Linked DNA regions of Homo sapiens: all the other regions are linked to region 2. Evidence: promoter capture Hi-C in 16 types of primary human blood cells and fetal thymus (Javierre and others, 2016). All regions are on one chromosome and are shown on one strand. Each heading gives the region's core, a stretch centred on a gene start or on the middle of the fragment in contact. The rest is flanking DNA. Distances are from core to core; before and after follow the strand shown.

What was found. Contacts are between HindIII fragments. The CHiCAGO score rates a contact against its expected background, and 5 or more counts as called.
Region 1: the fragment with the promoter of B4GALT6 here is called in contact with the fragment with the promoter of TRAPPC8 in region 2 in 1 of 17 cell types (fetal thymus); the score reaches 5.1 in fetal thymus.
Region 3: a contact is called between a fragment that was not itself captured here and the fragment with the promoter of TRAPPC8 in region 2, in 1 of 17 cell types (fetal thymus). The highest score is 5.3, in fetal thymus.

What each region holds. Positions count from the first base shown.
Region 1 is chr18:31,682,483-31,687,331 of GRCh38, forward strand. B4GALT6 (beta-1,4-galactosyltransferase 6) reads right to left here and starts at 2,099. Exons shown (of 9, transcript NM_004775.5): 1 at 1,830-2,099. The coding sequence starts at 1,944. RefSeq lists a silencer at 2,196-3,235. The HindIII fragment of the contact is 10,803 bases long and covers 1-4,849 here.
Region 2 is chr18:31,941,634-31,946,635 of GRCh38, forward strand. TRAPPC8 (trafficking protein particle complex subunit 8) reads right to left here and starts at 1,495. Exons shown (of 29, transcript NM_014939.5): 1 at 975-1,495. The coding sequence starts at 1,131. RefSeq lists enhancers at 390-1,168, 1,270-1,479, 4,627-5,002 and a silencer at 1,100-1,219. The HindIII fragment of the contact is 12,839 bases long and covers 202-5,002 here.
Region 3 is chr18:31,662,120-31,666,950 of GRCh38, forward strand. B4GALT6 (beta-1,4-galactosyltransferase 6) reads right to left here. Exons shown (of 9, transcript NM_004775.5): 2 at 4,137-4,253. Among named protein-coding and RNA genes, the nearest start is that of B4GALT6, 20 kb to the right of the region's middle. The HindIII fragment of the contact is 1,633 bases long and covers 2,661-4,293 here.

The DNA.
Region 1 (4,849 bases), core at 849-3,348, 260 kb before region 2:
CAACATTTTTACATTATATCAGTGACCGTTCTATGGCAAACATTAAGCATTCAAATAAGGAAAATTTATTAGTGTTTCACACAAGTTGAATTAAGAATCTACAAATAATATACTGACGCACTAACTTTAAAAAAAAAGGGATGACTAGAATTCTGATTTCCTTTGGTTAGCTTTTTGAGTAATATAACTTTAACATGTTACTCATAATACTAAGAAAGTGGGAAAATTGTTATGTAAGTGTGAAAAAAACTTTCTCCAAAATCTTTCAAAGTTAAATTCCTAGTAAAAAAACATACCCCAAAGATGTCCAAACTTTTAAAGAGTTACATGAGAAAGTAAAAATTGCTATAGAATGAAGAGTTAATTTATAAGACTCCAAAATGGCAAAAAATAAAGAAAGCTCTTGTTGAGTATCTAGATAATATCAAATCCACTAAGCTACCACTGTCATTTGTACTATAGGCTTCAAGGGGTAGGTTTTTGTGAGGTTTTTTGTTTTTTCTGGCCTAAAGGAAAACTGCAATAATGTTAAAATATTCTTCAAACTTTACCCTAAAACTTCTATTTTGGGATACGTCAACGTTTCACAATGCATTTCTTCTTAAACATCATCATCTGAGTTTATACACCTCACTGAATCCAAAAATTAATTATTAAAGAAAAAGTCTCATAGTAATTTTAAGAAATGAAGCAGTCTGGATTAGGTTTCCATCTTCCTTCCCTGCTGCAATTCACTGCAATAATCTACTACACTCAAGACAATGCCCTGATCATTCCATCTGAAAATTCTGCAGGTGTTTTCACTCTGTAAGGGGCATTACATTTTTAGCTAACTCGGAACAAAGAGCACTGGCTCAAACGACCACAGTGTGTAAGGAGAAATGAGAGGAGATGCTCACTGTTACTAAGTAATTGAACATTAAATACGTAATAGCCAGGAAAAACTCAGAAAAGTTTTGGAAATATGACATATTTTAATATGCATGTGAAGTTCATAATTCTCATTCACTAGAATTAACGCCGCATTGGCTCCTTTTCAACAAATGGGGGACGAGGAATTCGGATATTTAATAAAGAAGTTAATTCAAGCAGTTTTACAAAAGTGTATTTTGCACCAAAGGCCAAAAAATGATAAACCGGTTAACATTTTAAACTACAAGTTCCCTTAGATAACGGTTATTTTAATCACTATTTTCTCAGAAGTCATCCTAACAGGTAGCAAAGGCAACGTACCCTTGAAAATAACACCCAAGCAGACTAAAATAATGGAGCATTGTTTTTACAAGACAACTCATCGCCTTAAAATTCCCCAAGTATGGCACAAAAAGAATGGGGTCCACTGACCCCATTCTAAAAAAGCGACCTAGGACCCTAGAAAACACACATTGTTGGACTCAATCACATTCCCTGCTGCTGGCTCCTCCATATTTTTACAACCAGTTATTATACCCGAGAGTGTTTGAATAAAACTACGATTAAGCACTCAGTTTAGGCTTAAAGACTTAACATTAAATGGATAAAGCTGTCATGAACACTCAAGAAAGCGACTAGGGCATCCCGGGCCATCACACTAATTTTGCTACGTCTATTTAATGCAATCTTTTACGTTATTAACAAACATGCATTAACAAAATGCATGCATTAACAAAACTCACATACCAAAGCCATGCCCTGAAGCAGTTTGACACGTCTGAAATAACATTTAAAACAAAACGCTTTTCTGCGGGCCCCTGTTTGAACAGCTTCCAAATCCCAGAAGTAACATCGGATAACAGCCTGCGCTGGCTGTGGTGTGACCAGGGGAAGCGAGGGTGTGTCTCGGTGCTTACCGATGCCTGGGGCCACATAGATGAAGTACAGACAGGACGAAGAGAGGGAGAAGAAGAAGATGAAGGCGAGGAGAGAGCGATTGGAAACCCGCATCATCCGCCTGAGCACAGACATCTTCCTCTTCCCTGCCAGCAGCCCAGGCTGCGCTCTCAGGCCGGACTCGGGGCCACTGTCCAGGCCCTAAACTTCCATAAATGTGCTGAGAACCCCGAGACTGCAGCGGGGTCCGCGCGGGGAGGCTCTGGGGAGAGGGCCCGAGCGGAAAAGAGGAAATGGGAGGGAGCGGACGGAATGAATGGGAGGCCAGAGAGTCGGGGGAGGGGAGGCGCGGAGGCCGAGGGACAAGAGGTGGAGGGGGGAGAGGGGACTGGGGGCTAGGGGCCCGGGGACGGCAGGACGGAAGAAAGCCGGGGAAGGGCGAGGAGGAGCGTTTTCTCCGCCAAGCAGCGGCGGGAGGAGGGGCTGCAGGTGGGAGGAGGCGCAGGCTGCGCGCCGCGGCGCCCCTGCGGAGAGGGGCAGCTAACTGCAGCACGCCCGGCTCCGCTGCCCGCGCCCGGCGGGGTCCCGCCGCGAAGCCCCGTGCTTAAGGTCCGGGCCGCCCGCGTCCGCTCGGCAGGCCCTGCGCCGCCTCCTACTCCGGGCCGCGGCGTCTCCTGCCTGCGCGGGGCTAGCGTGGGCGCCGGGGCCGCAACCAGCGCGCGCCACGCGCGGGGGCCCGCGGGGGCCCTCGGGGCCGAGGAGCTGGGCGCTCGCCTGCACCGAGCCGCCTCCTCATGCCGCGCCGGGCCCCGGCGCCCCGCGGCCGCCGCGGGAGCTGAGCACAGGCCAGGGCGGCGTCCCGGCCAGCGACGAACGCGCTCCGACTCCGGCCGCCGCCAGCTGCCTGCCTGGCCGCAAGGGCGGCAGCGGCATTACCGCCGCGCGCCCGGGGTGAGGCGCCCCCGCCGGGCCCGCGGACACCAGGCGAAGAGCAACCGGGCGACGCGCGCTGCGGGCAGAGCCGGGGAGCCGGAAGAGCAGAGGCCGAGCGCCGTCGGAGCCGCGTCTGGTTGGAGAAAGAGGCGGACGTGAAGGGGCGGGGGAGCCGCGGAGGAAAACCGGGACCGGCGGGAACGTCTCGAGACCCCTGCGCGCTTCGCGCGCTCGCTCGGAACTCGGCAGGCGGCGCTGCGCCGGGCCCCGAGGAAACCTGGAGGTCCCCGCCCTCCCCGCGCCCGAAACACCGCGCGTCCTGATAGGCCCGCGCCCAGCAGCCCCCTCCCCGCGCCCGCCGCACCGGGGCCCCACCGCCTCCTGCGTCACCGCCGCCCCCGCCCGCCCGGGGACCCCGCGGTGACCGCGCTGCTGGGGGTTGAGGGACGCGTTGCGAGCCCCGGATACATTGTACCCTGGGGGTACATAATGAAGGATGCTGTACCTGAAAGGAAAAGGGCATCTCCAAAAGGGGACTTCGCGGGTGGAATTTCCTTCCAAAATCCTCGAGGAACAAGGTGTATTTCCGACCTGGATTAATGAATCCCCCCTCCTATCCCGCACTTCCTGTGGAAACAGTGTCAGGATGTGGCGCGGACCTATGTGCGTCCCTTATACCAGGACTTGCCTTCAACGCTGAAGGTGAACCCTGGGTCATCCTCGCTGTATTCAGGCGGCGCTGCAAAGGCTTCTGGGCAGCCAATAGGCCCTTGAGCGCCTCAGCCCCATCTTGCTTCAGTAGGCAAACGGACGGGTGTCTTCATCCACCTCCTAGGCCGTGGTCTACCCTTCGTTCAAATGTTTCTTCCTGCTAGCTGACTGTCCAGGTCCTTAGCTGTATCACATTGTTCAAATGTGTGTGCGCAGGTGTTTCTTTTTCAACTAATCATGCAGGAAGTGGCGGGATGCCTTACTGCCATTATTTGCTGAGTATTTCCAGATGGAACTGTAGTTGATAGCCAATAAATTTGGTACGTTTTTATCGGGATGCGCATGCCATAGATCGTCCCTGAGATAATGCTTTGCAATGTGGAACCTGAAACACCTATGTATAAGCCCAAGCCTTTCATTAATATTAACTGTGAGACCCCTGGAAGCTACTACTTTGTGTGAGCCTGTTTTCTCCGCCCTCAAACAGTGGATATAATACCCCCTTGCAAGGCTGTGAGATTAAATGGATAACTGTGCATAATGCTAAGCATGGTGTCTGGGACGTAAGAGGTTCCTTATATCCCATTAGTTCACTAGGTGGGATCACCAAGTTGAAATTCATTTTTTAATATTTTGCTTGTTGGAGTACTCACAACTCAACTTCTCTGGCTAATTTGATGTTTAATTTGAAAGGTAATGACACTATTTTGTAACATTTTTAGATGCTTAAGGGAAATTTGAAATGCAAAGTGGAACAACATTAAAAGGAAACTCATTTGTAAAATAAAGAAAAACAAAATCTATGCAAGCCAAAGAAGTCATGAATGCTGAGGAAGCAAAAATTGTGATTTTCCCCTCTCCAATCCCACTGTTCATTTATCTTTATTTGCATCAGTTAGACTGGTTGTTTACAAAGCTAATACCACCATACCACTAGTCAAAAGAGAGTTCCATACCTTTGCTGACCTAGTGGTAGACCATTCTTCTCAGGCAAGGTTGGCTTTTTCAAAGGAAAGTTTACTATAAACTGAGAGAGAAGTAGTAACATTATAGAATTTGATGATTCATCTATAAGAAATCTGAAGACTGTACAGATGAACCTAGCTGGCATAGATGACTGCCATCGGTTTCTCCCCTAATTTTAACCCTATCTCTTGATTTCTCTTGTTCGGCAAGTGTCCCCCACGGTACTTGTTAAGACTGATTAGCTCTCCCCAGGAGTAGACTTTTATCTGTTGTACCAGAAAACAAGCCTAGTCGGTGCAGCCATTGTTGTGAGGATTAAATTAAATGAATTAATGCCTGTAAAGAGCATGGGAGAGGCTGGTACATGGTAAGCACCATTCGAGTATTTGTAAAATATATTTTTAGAAATCTCTCCTTGCAGTCACTCTCT
Region 2 (5,002 bases), core at 245-2,744:
CTATTCTCCCAAAAAACATGGTAGCGCAAAAATGGTACAGCACTGATTTTTTTTGTGGATAAGTCATATTAAGCTAACAAACATCACAGTCGTTTGCCTGACACAGGCTTATTATGAAACCCTTCAGTTCTTACCGACCTTAACAAAAAAAACTTTACTTGGACTTTGTTGTTTGCAAGATATTGGCTAAAACATGCTTGAAGCTTTACCACATTATTTTCTCCTAATAAAAAAATCCAAAACTGGAGAAAACGGGTAGCTTCTTAACAAGACATTCATTAACAAGAGAAGACATTTCCATCCCTATAACTATAGATAACTCCAAATATCCAGGTTAAATTAACCACAACTTGGGCTTGCTTCCTCTTCCTTAGGGCAAAAAGCTGCTTCAAGTTTTATTCTTCTTATAATACTTTTAATTTTCTTGAGAGGTTAAGCAAAATACCGTATAGCTAAGAATATATTAGTAAAACAGCTACACGGTAGTTCAGACAGAGATGACCCTCAACGCTACAAGAATGTAATAACATCCACAACTACTTTCAAAGTCCAGTTTAACATCCAAGGGAGGATGACAGGTCTTCCTTACTCAGACCCTGTCGGTCTAAGAGGCAGCATTTTCCTACCTTAGCTGCTTTGCAAGTGCCTAATTCCTTCGCTATGGCCGTGGAGAACAGTCTCAATGCCGTTCTCGAAGACTCACGTTTATCTTTGCACCAATTACTTAACGACCTAGGTTGTCCGAGGAAGAAAGGAAGTGCCCAGAGAAACTGGAGCTTAGGACTGCGCTGTCTTGACAACCTCACGGTCCCTCCTCCAGCCGCCCCCGGAGCACCGCGGGGCCACAGCCCCAGACGCCACGGTACCGGCTCCAGGACGTAAACACTGCCCTTCTCTTCCCTGCCCGCCCGCAACTTCCTTCTCCCGACCACGGCTTTGCGGGAGCCCACTGGAAAAGGGAGGATACCACATACCCTCGGAAGTGAGGCGGGAGAAGGGCTTAAGCAGCTCCGCGAAGCTGAGGTGATTGAGACGAGTGAGCCGCTCGGCTTCGTCGCTGCACAGCGCAGCGACACAGGGGACGAAGGAGTCCGGGATTAGCTCCTGCACTGATTGTACACACTGGGCCATCGCCGCAGCACAGGCAGCGGCGGCGCCCGCCCTCCGGCCCACCCTGCGAGGTTATCCTGCGGCTGCAGCAGCTACCGCCGCCGCCCGCCGGCCTGGCCCGGCCGGGCGGGGCCCCGAACGCACTGGAGCCTAGAAACAAGAAGGAACAGACGCCGCCGCTTCGGTTTCTGGGGCACAATCCACTGACCCCCCCCTTCCCGTCACCGCCGCTTCTCAGCGCTCGTCCCCGCGTGCTCGCATTCCACCCCGATAGGTGGAGACGCCGACAGTCACCACTTAGTCCTTCGGACGGCAAAACCTTGGTCACTGCCCGGCCGGAACCGCCATGTTGAGGCCGAACCCTGACCAACCGGCAGTACTACTCCCAGCTGCCCCCGCGCGCGTCCCTCACGTGACTGTGTTAAAGGAGACGGTAGGGGCAAGGGAAGAGAGCTGAGGAGAGGGAAGTGAAAAACGACGGAGGCCGGTTGGGAGGCTGGAGCCGGAAGTGTTGTGACGGAAGCTCCCTGGGCGGGGCGGGGCTACAAGTGCGGTGGGCGGGGGCGGGGGCGGGGGCGGGGGCGGGGGGAGGTGCACAACTGTAGGCCGGGTTCTCAAGCTCGCCCTTAGCAGAGCAGAGCTGAGAGCCACCTACTAGCGGCAGGTGGAGCCTCGAGACGGGTGCTGTCGTGGTGATGGAGGCGCACGCTCGCTTCCCACGCAGTTTGGCCTTTTTGACGTCCCTGGCTGTTGTGGGCAACCGATTTGGTTGGTCGCGCTGCTTCCTACGCTCGCCGGCGGAGCAGCTAGTGGCACCTGCTCGGAGAGAGGGAGTGGATCTCTCGGAAGTGCTTGGGGTTTCGCTGAAGCGGACCTGAACAGACCATGTGTCCTTTAAATACAGCCATGCTTTTAGAAACGGACTGTCACTTTATGTGGACTCAACCATTGAACAGAATGTGTGCTTTTGTGAGTGCTGCAATTCCTTCAAGTGTAATTGCGCTACTGCATTTTTGTTGGTCGCAGGGAAGGGGTGTGCCTGCAAATGTCCGCGTGGTTCGTCCTCAGCCTCTTCCTTTTTACACTGTGCTAGGATGTTTACTTGCTTGTGGTGGAGGTAGGGGAAGCCAGTATTTGTGTACTGTGTACTGTCCTGAACCGGCTTTCATTCCTAACTTTTCAAAGATTGCTTTAAAGGGGGGGGGGCGCGGGTCAAATATTGTTTTAAAGGGGGGGACGGGGTGAGGTCAATGGTGTGTGCCTTGTAAGTAGAAATGAATGAAAGGAATTTTACTAATGTGTCACTCAATTGTTTGAGCTCCTTCTGTTTTGCATGCCAAAAATATAAGGCAAGGAAAAATGTATCATTCTATCATGATTTTATGGTGCTCTAATTAAAGGTGTCTTCCCCAACGTCAATGTCTCAAATTTTTCGACTTCTTGACACCCTCAGGTTTTCACTAAGGTAATAATTTATGACAAGTAAGATGTGTGCTTCTCATGTAAGTTGATAAATGGGAGGTAGGAAGGCACAGTAGGACATATTGATGACATGCCTTGGCTACAGATTAATTTATAAGAGAGTCCATCACTTTAGGAGATTTATTTGCCGAAGTTAAGTACGAGCCCAGGAAACAGGTCTATGCCTTTCTTCGAAGATGATTTTGAGTGCTCCAAATTTAAAGGGGAAAGGGCGGGATATTGAGAAGCACACCGTTTTCATGTAAGGGGGCGGTAGGAGAAAATAGTAATTCTTGCCTTTCTCTGGCTCAGTGAATCTGCATTTTTTACATAAGATGACATAAAATGGGCAGAGGAAGAATGTGGGAGTCTGCATTTTTCATAAGATAACAGACAAAATGGGGTAGGGGAACAATCAGATAGGCATTTGTGTCTGGCGGGCTGGGGTGGCCACCTGTAAAGATAAGCTATCAATTTGCATTGCCATGAAGTTTTAACAGCACACTAAGAATTTCCTTGTGGGCAAAATACGGGGGAGAGATGTAGCTTTTCATCTTGCAGCAATCTTATTTAGGAACCAAAAGGGGGAGGCAGATTTGCGTGACCAGTCCCAGCGTGACTTTTCCCTTTGGCTAAATCAGTTTGGGGTCCCAAAATTTAATTTCCTTTTGCAAGAGATAACATGTTACACACAATCCCTTTTCAATGCTTCTGATTCACTTCCTTACCCTTTATAATGTGAGAATCTCACATAATTTAGTGTGACTCAAGTTATAAGATACATTTTTTATAACAGGACTCCCAAATGCAAACATACTATTTATCTAGTACTCTAAAAAGTTTCAAAGGCCATTTATTTTTATGCTGAAAGTAAAAACAGCTGAATTAGACTCTTTGAAAAGGACTTTCAATGGTAATTTAGCCAAAATAGATTTTTCTGAGATATAATTCACATGCCATAATATTTACCCCTTCAGATGAGTGTACAATTCATTGGTTTTCAGTTTATTCCAAAAGTTGTGCAACCATTACTACTATCTAATTCCAGAACATGTTCATCCCAAAAAGAAGGCTTGTACAGGCTTTTATCATTCTGCACCCTGCCATGCCCTCCAACTCCTGGCAATCACTAATCTACTTTCTGTCTGTGTAGATTTACCTATTCTGGACATTTCATATAAGTGAAATTATACAATATGTGGCCTTTGTACACATATTACTTCACTCATCAATATATTTTAAAGGTTCATCCATGTTGTAACATGAATCATTACTTCATTCCTTTTTATGGCTGAGCCTAAATGGATTTTTGTCTTATGCATTGACTTTGCAGTTGTTGTTTTTTTTTTAATATATAGAGATGAGGGCTCACTGTATTGCCCAGGCTGGCCTCAAACTCTGGGCTCTGGTGATCCTTCTGCCTCAGCCTCCCAAAATGCTGGGATTGCAGGTGTGAGCCACCACACCCAGCCTGACTTCACAATCTAATACCACACCCATACACAGTGTTTCCAGTGAGTAACTTCACTGTGTAAATCTAATTCTTTCGTAGTCTATCCTGGTCTCTTCTTTCTTTTGACAAGGTACTGTTTGAACTGTGGAAACACCTTAAAGGAGATGATACTGAGGACTTAACTCTGACATTTTTCCCCTCCTCCCCGAATTCCTATCTAAGGGGCCTGTGGAGTCACACCCTACAAAACATAAAATGTTATCAAATGGGCCGGGCGCGGTGGCTCACGCCTGTAATCCCAGCACTTTGGGAGGCTGAGGTGGGTGGATCACGAGGTCAGGAGTTCGAGACCAGTCTGGCCAACATAGTGAAACCCCGTCTACCAAAAATACACAAAAAATTAGCTGGGCGTGGTGGTGTGTGCCTGTAATCCCAGCTCCTCAGGAGGCTGAGGCAGGAGAATCACATGAACCCAGGAGGTGGAGGTTGCAGTGAGCCAATATCGTGCCACTGCACTCCAGCCTGGGCAACAGAACGAGACTCCGTCTCAAAAAAAAGAAAAGTTATCAGATGGGTTTTATGTAAACTTATATAATATGGCTTACTTTCCAACTTGACTCTGGCATAACATCACATGACAGATAAAGGAAATCAAAGTATTTTACCTCAAAATATATTTCTTTGCCGTATTTTGAAATGCCCCTGCAAAGCTATTTTGTGGGGAGAGAGGTAATTGCATCTGTTAAGAATCTCTGTTGGCTGGGTGCAGTGGCTCACACCTGCAATCCCAGCACTTTGGGAGGCCGAGGCATGTGGATCACCTGAGGTCAGCCCGGCCAACATGGTGAAGCCCCGTCTCTACTAAAAATTTAGCCGGCCGTAGTGGTGGGCTCCTGTAATCCCAGCTACTCTGGAGGGTGAGGCGGGAGAATCACCTGAACCCAGGAGGCAGAGATTGCAGTGAGCCAAGATCGCACC
Region 3 (4,831 bases), core at 2,227-4,726, 280 kb before region 2:
CTGAATCACAAGAGTAAACATTCCATCACTTTTATCAGTTTTTAAAGAACCACATTTAAGTGCCTTCAAGTTACGCAATATCATTATATTCACTTCATTGAATACAAAGTTTTAGAGCTAAACATCTGCTATTCTTGGCCACCTCCTAAGGAGCTCAACTCACTGCCAGACTTAGAGAAACACCTCCACACTCCTTCAGTACTCTGTCCGGTGGTATTTGTGTCTTCCCAATGTATTATGTGTATATAGTCTATCCGCCACCCCGGCCATTATTCTGAATATCTCTTTTAATTGAAATCAAATTATCTTTGATTTCTAGCACCTAATAATAGTACCTACAACATAGTAGGAACATACTATAAATAAACACCTCACAAATGATAATACAGCCAATAATGATTTAAGCTTTTGGAGATTTTACTGTAATAAACCCACAAAATTGGCTGGGCGTAGTGGCTCATGCCTGTAATCCCAGCACTTTGGGAGGCCAAAAGGGTGGACCACAAGGTCAGGAGATCAAGACCATCCTGGCTAACACGGTGAAACCCCGTCTCTACTAAAAATACAAAAAATTAGCCAGGCATGGTGGCGGGCGCCTGTAGTCCCACCTACTTGGGAGGTGGAGGCAGGAGAATGGCCTGAACCCAGGAGGCGGAGCTTGCAGTGAGCTGAGATCATACCACTGCACTTCAGCCTGGGCGACAGAGCGAGACTCTGTCTCAAAAAAAAACAAAAACAAAAAAACCCACAAAATCATTATTCCTACAAAAGTTGTTAGGTGAGCAATGTCCATCATGTATAACCACTGCTTTCAAAGTCAGGAAGCATTTTAAAAGGTTATGTATGACAGATGCATTTGGGAACCACCACAACTGCTATAAAAGGTAGACATTATTTCATCTAATGAATGGATAAAAATAAAATGAGCTCTGGGCCCCCTGCTTTCTTCCTCCCTTCCAGAAACACAACCAAAGAAAAGGCAAACAAAGAATGAAAACTGCCAGATGGATCCCCTACTAATTCTCACTGGACCTTATCACTTAAAGGAAAAGGAGGACAGCACCAAAGAACACCTTTTAATGGCTTTATTTTGCTGCGAAACAGCAGCTTAAAACAGGTGTTAGAAACCGATGAGAGTCCTAGTCTGTTTCCCACTAACTTGTCTTGTCAGTCTGGCAGTGTCTGGGGGCCTCAATTCATGTACCCATCAAATGAGGAGGCATGCTGGGTTATTTCCAACAAACCTATCCACTCTAACATTGCATGGCCCTTATCTGCTTCAGTAATTAGATGAATTCACTGAATACGTCTTGTTTTCATAATTTGGCTCTGTGGGCTACATGGCACCATCTGATTATGAGAGTATATAATTTATTTACAAAAATAGTATACATCTATTTATATTTGATGCCACAGAAAGTCAGGTATAGGATTAAAAACCCCTTTTGGAAATCAAATGTGCTTATAACTATCACAATCTATTTATCATTTAGTGTTAAATTATAAATGAGCCACTGCATATTAATCAATTCCCCTCTAGAGCTCAGTTAGCTTTTTGTACACCTTATAGGCCATTATCTTCTTTTTTGGATATTGTATCTATAGAAGTCTATGTAGAAATAACCAGTTGCATTATAAATAACTATTCATGTTTCCATCTCTCCCAGAGGCCTAGAGATCCTCATATTAAAGGAGACTGTTTTTCTTAATATTGTGTCTCCAATATCTGGTTAAATATACTAACTATAATAATTATTCGTAAATGTTGGCTAAATGAACATGGCGGAGCCTCATTGCTGACTCAAACTCCATTCTTCCCTTTCCCCGTAGGTAACAGAATGCCAGTTTCACTAGAGTTCCAGCATACTCTGGTCAAGACTATATTTCCCAGTGTTATCGCATGTGGCCATGCAATTAAGTTCTAGCCAATTAAATGTATGAAGAAATACTGTGTGGGACCTCTGGGAAGGCTCCAGAAAAGAGGTACCTTATTTGTTCTTCTTTGTTCTCGCTTTCCTCCTTCCTACTGACCCAAGTTCAAACAGCAGCCATCTTAGACTATGAGTTAACCATGGAGCCACATGACAGATGGCAGAAAATGAAAAGTGTGTGATGACTTACTTTAAGGAGCCTCCATAACAGCCACAGATATCCAACTTGCAGAGTTCTTTCACATGAGAACAGAAAGCCTCATGTGTTTAAACCACCACAGGCAGGTCTCTGTTACATCCAAACCTAATCCCTAATGTATACAATGACTGTTTCCTGAGAACAGTTTTACCATTAGTAAAGGAACCCTATGAAAAGTTTTCAAAGTTTCATAAAAGTAAGCAAACTTTAATCTAAGTATGCATTGGTTCTTTGGTCTTTATTGAAACTATGACTTGGTGAGAGGAGGAAAGGATTTTCCTTTTTTTTTTTTTTTGGTTGCAGGATACTATGGGGAAAGATTGTCTTGCCCATGTAATCATTCCTCCTAATCAAGCTCAACATCCACACATATACCTTATTCATACCCCAGGGAAAACAAGCTGATATGCACAAATTTTTAGCACTCACACAAATACACCAATTTAAAGATGTCTATTTCCTTTCAGTTGAACAAACTTTCAGTGAACATTTTTACAATCAACTTATTCAACCAGCACAAATCCTACAGAAGCTTTTAAAATGTTTAAACTTCTAAAATTGACCTACTATTCAGAAGACTCATTCATGCTAAAGAATAGTTAATGAGACTTTTACTGTAGAATTAAAACATCAACTATGCTGAGGCAGTTCTTCTAAAAAAATTCCTTCAAGGTTAAAAAATTAAAATAAAACAAGAGTGTTTTGATTTGTGGCATCATAAACATATTAGGCAAATGACTAGAATGGATTTTATAGAAGCACATGTGATATTAAATTGAGATCAATATGTCACAGTCTTGAATTTTTAGAAGGGTCTAAAACTATCACCCACCTTGACATACATTTAAGAAAGAACATCTACAGCTGAAAGACAGACTTTCTCTTAGTAGAATGTGTAGGTTTACAGTGACACAAGGAAGAATTACTAACACAAATTAAATCTTTATTTTTAACTGTTCAAAATGAGACCATAAAGGGTACAACAACTGACAACCCCACTGAATCCTTTAAAGTAACACCTAATAATACCCTGGCAGACACTGTGGCAACCCTGCCATAAACGAGCATTCACATTCTTCCACAATAGTGAAATCTATTTACATCAATTCTACCATCATTAAATTATTGGTTCAGCCTATTAGATTTTAACCTCCTGGAATTCTAATGGAGCTTCTACTTCCAGGTAACATTTTAAAAAGACAAGAGTAGGCCGGGCACAGTGGCTCATGCCTGTAATCCCAGCACTTTCGGAGGCTGAAGCGGGCGTATCACGAGGTCAAGAGATTGAGACCATCTTGGCTAACATGGTGAAACCCCGTCTCTATCAAAAATTTAAAAAAAAATTAGCCGGGCGTGGTGATGGGCGCCTGTAATCCCAGCTACTTGGGAGACTGAGGCGTGAGAATGGCGTGAACCTGGTAGATGGAGCTTGCAGTGAGCCAAGATTGCGCCACTGCACTCCAGCCTGGGCAACAGAGCGAGACTCTGTCTAAAAAAATAAATAAGTAAAATAAAAAGGAGTAGCTACCAATTTCCAATTTTATAAAATTTCTCCTTTAGCTCCTTAAAAAGGCCATAACACTATTAACAATCTTCTATAATTAAAAACAACTATTTTCTAGACCTAGTTGGAAGAACAACTTAGGAACTAGAATGAACATAAAGAGAGATGGTAGTATGGCTTACTAAGATGAATAAATTATTCTCTGGTTAATTTCTCTTAAATACAACATACGAATTGAAAAAGTAGAAGCTGCTTTCTATATTTTGTTTACAAGAATTAACTTAAGTGTCTGTACAAAACCTCATCACTTTTGTGACCACACGTTCATACATCCTAAAATAGGTAACAGTCTTGATTTGCACAGTAAAATAATCTACCAGGACGCTTAGGGGAAGATACCTTCTTCATCTTTAACAGGAAGTTACCTGAAGGCAAAACAGACTGTAAAAGATTTGGTTTACTGCTTTGTAACTACAAGGGGTTAAGCAGGAAGTAGTCTTACCTGTACCGTTGAGCGTACTGTTTTTATTTGTGTACAGCCTGATCATATGACCTATTGTTTTCACATTTTCTCTCAACATTATACCTCGAGCTTGTACCATAAAGAGATATGTGTTGGCTATAAAAGAAAAATAGAGAAAGAATGTCATAACACAGTAAGCTTTTTTTTATTTAATAAAATAATATTCAGAATTGGGGAAGTGCCCAATAAACATAAACTGACTCAATCAGCACGTCCAAACGCAAAACAGAAATATAAAATATTGCCTACTATAAAAACTGACAAAAACAAACTGATTTTTTAAGAATAAAAACAAAAAAAAAGTTGAAATACCCACCTATCAAATAGAATGAAACTAACTGAACAAACTAAAATATTATAATGAACCCCCACATCTGTGATTTTCTACTATAAAATATACTTAGAAATTTCAAAAAGGCATTTTATTACAGATGCTCAATCCTACAGTTACAAAATTCAGTTTCTCTAATTATATATTAATTTCCTACCAAAAACTTCACAAAAGCTAGGATTCCTTATAAATCCCATAATATCTAGTAGGAATAAAGATCTTGCAATGGTCCTGAAAATTCTTGATGTGTTTGCGGGGAGGGGTGATCTAGGATCAGTATCTGTTTGGGTCATTTCTAAGAGTTAATTAAACTTTTACACTCCCTTTCAATCACAAATCTTTC